2 separate regions of the Homo sapiens genome follow, and region 1 is linked to region 2. Evidence: promoter capture Hi-C in 16 types of primary human blood cells and fetal thymus (Javierre and others, 2016). All regions are on one chromosome and are shown on one strand. Each heading gives the region's core, a stretch centred on a gene start or on the middle of the fragment in contact. The rest is flanking DNA. Distances are from core to core; before and after follow the strand shown. Region 1 overlaps MRPS22 (mitochondrial ribosomal protein S22). Region 2 holds the start of U2SURP (U2 snRNP associated SURP domain containing).

Region 1 (2,700 bases), core at 1-2,500, 3.7 Mb before region 2:
TGTTGTGATTGTTATTCTCTGGCTCCTCTTTACTTGATTGCAAATTTAAAAGAACACTCTGGCATTTTAGAAATATGTAAGCTTTGTATTTGAGCCTTTGCAAGTAAAGAATAAAAAGAGAATAGTTTACAATTCAGCCCACAGAATACGTTAGAACACTATAGAATGCTGAGTTTAGGAGAAGGTTCACTCCATATTAATCTTTTATTATACATGATTATGGTTAGAAAACGATTTGAGCTATGTTCAACACCAGCCATCTGTATATTTGACATAATGAACATGAGTCACAGAGTTTCAATTTTAATTACAGTTTTTGTTTTGTGATGCTTTAATATATGTTTGCAGTGCTGTGCATGTTGGTTGGGAAGCATTTTGTAACTTGAAAAGGAGAAAGGAACTTGGAATTCAGGTTTCTCAAATTACCAAAATCCTTCTGAGGAAAAATTGTATTATGTTGGCATGTGCTTTTTTTTTTTCGATTGGCAGTGTTGATGGAAGTTTCATCTATGTTATCTTCAGAACACATTTAGAGACTCCTACACCTCTGAAAACTTGAGAGTCAGTACTGTTTGGTTAATTTATACATTAATCAGGTGTGTATCAATTATCAGCAATGTGCAAAGCTCCATGTATGCCACTCCCGGTATTGCAAAAAATTATAATCCACATTTCCTGCCCTTTTCCAGTTATATAACAATATCTGAGGGATGCCAAAAATCTTGTGTGGGGTAAATTTCCAGTTGAATGGTATAAAAAGTAGGTAGAATTTAGAGGAGGAAGTGATCCCATGGCCTGGGAGTTGGCAGTTGGAAGATCGAAGTGACCAGAGACAGTTGGACCAGACAGCCTCTCAGACATGTTTATGTCTAATGCCAATATAAGAAATCATAAAAGTGTAGAAGTAAGACTCCTCATTCTTGGGTTTGTTCTTTTTATCCCAAGGACTTTAAACATAGATCATAAAGTAGTAAAATCTGTTTAGATGAGACTTTGGGATAGAGAAATGAAAGTTTGGAAAGGTCATAGCACTTCTTTCCTCTAAAATGGATATAGATGAATCTCAGCTTTTTTCGTATCGAACTCACGTTAGCACCATAGTTGGTACTTACTGAATACTTTCATTTTAGATTTCTGATTGTCAGATGCACAGCAGTGATTAGTGAAGGAAATATCAAACCTTGCCAAGTCTTTGAGGTTTAAAATTATCATTGATCTCATATGCATGATTGCATTTTATATTGTTGATTGCAAATTATTCTTATAATGGCCTTAGTGGGACACAGGAACTAAAAATACGTCCTCACAAACGCATCCTTGATTATGTTTTTCTATTTTAGGAGCGTTTTATTGTCGTCAGAGAACCAAGTGGCACACTACGCAAAGCCTCTTGGGAAGAACGGGACCGAATGATACAAGTTTATTTCCCAAAAGAAGGTCGTAAAATTTTGACACCAATAATTTTCAAGGAAGAAAATCTTAGGGTAAGGTGACTTAGGTTTTATGTTTTAGAGCCAGTGGTGATGATTTATTTGTAGAACCAGTTGGCTTTGTGCCTTGATCCAGATAAACATTTCTAATGATAACTTGACTTTTTTTTTTTTTTGAAATGGAGTTTCGCTCCTTTTGCCCAGGCTGAAGTGCAGTGGCGGGATCTCAGCTCACTGCAACCTCCACCTTCTGGTTTCAAGTGATTCTTCTGCCTCAGCCTCATGAGTAGCTGGGATTACAGGCGCCCGCCACCACGCTTGGCTAATTTTTGTATTTTTAGTAGAGATGGGGTTTCACCATGTTGGCCAGGCTGGTCTTGAACTCCTGACCTCGGGATTCGCACCCCCCCCCCGCAATCCGACTCCCAAAGTGCTGGGATTACAGGCGTGAGCCACCATGCCTGGCCGACTTCTTTCTTAATAGAATCCTCCTTACCACCCAAGATGGGTTGTACTAGGGTTCTCTCATAATTGGCTTAGCTGGAATTTGAATCTAGGTGTGACAATTACAAAGCCTGTGTTCTTTCTTTATGCTTCTTGAGGAGCACAGAGTGGCCAGTATGTGGGTGGGCAGGCCTGTCATGACATCAGGACAGGTGCTGAACTTCAGTGTTCTCATGTGATGCTAACTCTGCTGTGTGGTTTTAGACTATGTATAGCCAGGACAGGCATGTTGATGTCCTCAATCTCTGCTTTGCCCAGTTTGAGCCAGATTCCACAGAGTATATCAAGGTGAGTAGATTTTAGTTTCTAAAATATAGGCTTAAGTATGGTTATGAGTAAGATTTTTAATCTAGCTCAATGAATTTCGTTGTAAGTTTTGATACAGGGGAAAGGGAAGAGAAATACCTGAAAATCTATTGAGTACAGTTGTGTGCCAGATATATATTTTATAATCACAACAACCCTTGATTAAAGATGAGGGAATTTAAGCTTGTAGAATTAAGTAGCTTGCTGAAAGTTGCATAGCTACTAAGTGGTAGGGTTAGGACCCAAGTTTGATGACAAAGCCTATTCTCTTTTCAGTTTACCGTATAGGAATCAAATTATTTACTAAAATTTTGCTGAAGTACAGTGTGTTTGTCTTACAGCTCAGTAAGTATTCATTAGTACCTTCTATGTGTAAGGTATTATCTTGGGTAGTATAGGTGATGCCACGAACTAGGATAGAGTATGCTGTGCCAAAGCCAGCAGTCCGGATATGGCTGTG
Region 2 (2,700 bases), core at 81-2,580:
GGTCCCTCAGCTATTGATCCTTCCTTGCAGCATCAATTTAATTATGCATAGTGTCAGTTTGCGGTTTCCTTGTCTCCTCCATTTCTCATTAAGTTTTAAATCATATGAAGACAGTGCATGTTTGTCTGTCTCTGTAAGCCCTACAACACTTTGGGCAGGCTTTTACACACAAAACGGGGCTCAAAAATATTTTGAATAAATGATTTAGGGAGAGGTCCACAAACGCCCTCCACTCCCACCCTAGTCCTCAGAGCAATACTTTAAAATAAAAATCTGACCATTTCAACCTTGTTAAAGGCCGATCTTCATTCTGAGAACAGAATTCTAACTCCTAAGCACGATGGTGACCTCAGGGCGCTGTGTGAACCTGCACCCGCACCCCTGTCCAACCACGTCCCTCCCCACACCTGGTCTAATAAAACGACTGCTTTAGGTGACCTGCACGATCGGCTGTACTGATTCATGCCACAGGCTTTTACCTCAATTACTCCCTCTGTCTGGAATGTCCTTTCTTTCCTTGCCTGGCCTGATTCGGGCATGGCCTTCTCAAGCAAGCTTTCCGTCTTTGAATCTAGGCCCTGATTAAGAACTTTTTAAAAAAGTACTAAGTTCAGAAAAGTTTAATATGGTGTTCCCCCATTTATGTGATTAAAAATGAAAACAATACTAAAGTGTAAAATGTAATCTTTAAAATGTCACACAACTTTACATGCATGCTAGATTTAGAATACCATCTGTATTTACGATTTTCTCTTATTGACTGTCTCCACGCGCACCCACTCTGCAGACGCCCTAAAGAGTGTCTATCGGATCACCCTCAAGTTGGGTCAAACGGCTCCTCTTCTCGGCTTTTCGGGAGCAACCCTATCTCAACATTCACCATCTTAAGATGAGCAGACTGCAAGTTTGCCTCTCCCACCAGTATGGGAGCTGCCGAAGCGGCAAGAACAGCGTTTCCGTCCATCGAGCGCCAGGTCACCAGTCAGCTCCAGTCCTATTTTGAGTTGAAGTAAAAGCTCCTCCCTAGATGGCCAGTGCACGTCTTTAAAAAGCGACTCCTTTCCCACAAAGGAAATACGACTGGTTCGCATCTATCAAGGGTTGGCGTTGGGATAAGAGGGTGAAGTATCAGCTGGCCCTGATTCTCTGAATTCCCGGACCCAATAACGCGACCAAGCACCGTGACTCCCAGGAAAACTAGCGGAGTGAGCGCGGCTGAGGAAATTACTGACACCGGAAGTCACGTGAGCGGCTGCCCCTAAGGTCGCTATCTCGACAGTCGACTATTCAGCCTTGCAGGCGCCTCTGGCGGGCTTCACTGAGATCCGCTCTTTCGGTGCTCGACTCGCCCGTGCTGCTGCCGCCGCCGAAGGAGGGGCAAAGCTCAAGATGGCGGACAAAACGCCAGGCGGATCTCAGAAGGCCAGTTCAAAGGTAATTTCTGACAAAATTTCGTAAGTCAGCGGATCTACCACTGTCGTTTGGGGCCCACAGACGCTTCTGGCCTGTGAGAGGCGATTGGGATTGGGGTCTGCATTCTAGTCGCGACGGTAGGCCCGGGCGCCGCCGCACCGTTGTGCGCAGGTTGAGAGGCCTGGTATCTCCCCATAGTCCCAGCCGGGATTCAGCTCGAGACTGGCGTGCCCAGTGGGTGGAGGCGTGAGTGCTTCGGCCCGCGCTTGGCATTGGAGTGAAATCAGGAATTCAGATTGAGGTCTGAAGCAGTGAAAACGCTCTCCTGTATCTCAGCTTCCTGCGCCCTGAGGCCGCCAGACAGCGCCTGGGAGAGAGGCGGGAATCGCTTCCCGGTGCTTAAATGTCTGCTGCTTTTTTCTCGGTTTTGGATCTCACTCACTTCCGGCCTCCCTCAGTTTCCCTCCAAGGAATGAATAACCTCTAGGGTCGCCAGCTGTGAGGGGAGGACCACTAGGGCAAAGACACGGAGTGGGAAATGCAGAGGCGGGAGCAGCTCTCCTTTGCAGTGCTGCATAGCCAAGGTTAATGTACAGTCTACACGTGGTCTTTACCTTAACGGGAAGTAAAAAGCACTTTTGAGGGTAGAGGACTCGTGGTCTCTTTCTTTATGTTGAAGAAACAGTGAAAAGAGAAGCTCCGTAGACTTGTAAGCTACATACGATTAGTAAATTGCATTTGTGTTTACAGGGAACCCTGGGCACGTATTGTGAAACCAGTGAGCTGTGGTAGTAGTTAAGCATTAGTACGGTTGGGTTCTTAGTTGCCATCTTGGGCGGGACATTTAATCGTTTTTTGGTTTGGGTTTCTGGTCTCGAATATATTAAAAGTAATTGGTACTGCCACGAGGTAGTTAAACTTTCCGATGCTGATGCAAGAAGCTGTGTAACACTTTCAGGTGCTAGGGACTGTTAAATCTTAAAGAGTGTGTGACTGTAAATCGGCTATTAGAAAGTTAAATTTACGGTAGGAGAGAAGCTTGCGTTTACAGTTCTGAGAAACATCATAACTCGTTTTCTACTTGCTTTCTCTAATCCGACTGTTTATGCCATTTGGTGAACGATGTACACCAAAATAATTAATTCATAATTAGTAATGGTCTTAACAGACATCGTTTAGTTACATAGAAACTTTGGTGAGGGGCCAGTTTCGGCTTCTTTACAAGGTATTGTGTCAGTTTTTTTTCCCCCTCCTCAGTACATTTTCTCGTCTCCCTCTCTTTGGGGG

Evidence for each region. The method cuts DNA at HindIII sites, captures the fragments that hold promoters and counts their contacts. A CHiCAGO score of 5 or more calls a contact.
Region 1: a fragment that was not itself captured here is called in contact with the fragment with the promoter of U2SURP in region 2 in 1 of 17 cell types (total CD4 T cells); the score reaches 6.2 in total CD4 T cells.

What each region holds. Positions count from the first base shown.
Region 1 is chr3:139,348,839-139,351,538 of GRCh38, forward strand. It overlaps MRPS22 (mitochondrial ribosomal protein S22), which reads left to right. Exons shown (of 8, transcript NM_020191.4): 4 at 1,341-1,484; 5 at 2,139-2,222. Among named protein-coding and RNA genes, the nearest start is that of MRPS22, 6.2 kb to the left of the region's middle. The HindIII fragment of the contact is 2,342 bases long and covers 80-2,421 here.
Region 2 is chr3:143,000,240-143,002,939 of GRCh38, forward strand. It overlaps U2SURP (U2 snRNP associated SURP domain containing), which reads left to right and starts at 1,331. Exons shown (of 28, transcript NM_001080415.2): 1 at 1,331-1,434. The coding sequence starts at 1,390. PAQR9-AS1 (PAQR9 antisense RNA 1) reads left to right here. Exons shown (of 5, transcript NR_125393.1): 5 at 788-851. It overlaps LOC100289361 (a long non-coding RNA gene), which reads right to left and starts at 1,228. Exons shown (of 1, transcript NR_034032.1): 1 at 606-1,228. RefSeq lists enhancers at 769-1,768, 1,043-1,692. The HindIII fragment of the contact is 1,896 bases long and covers 554-2,449 here.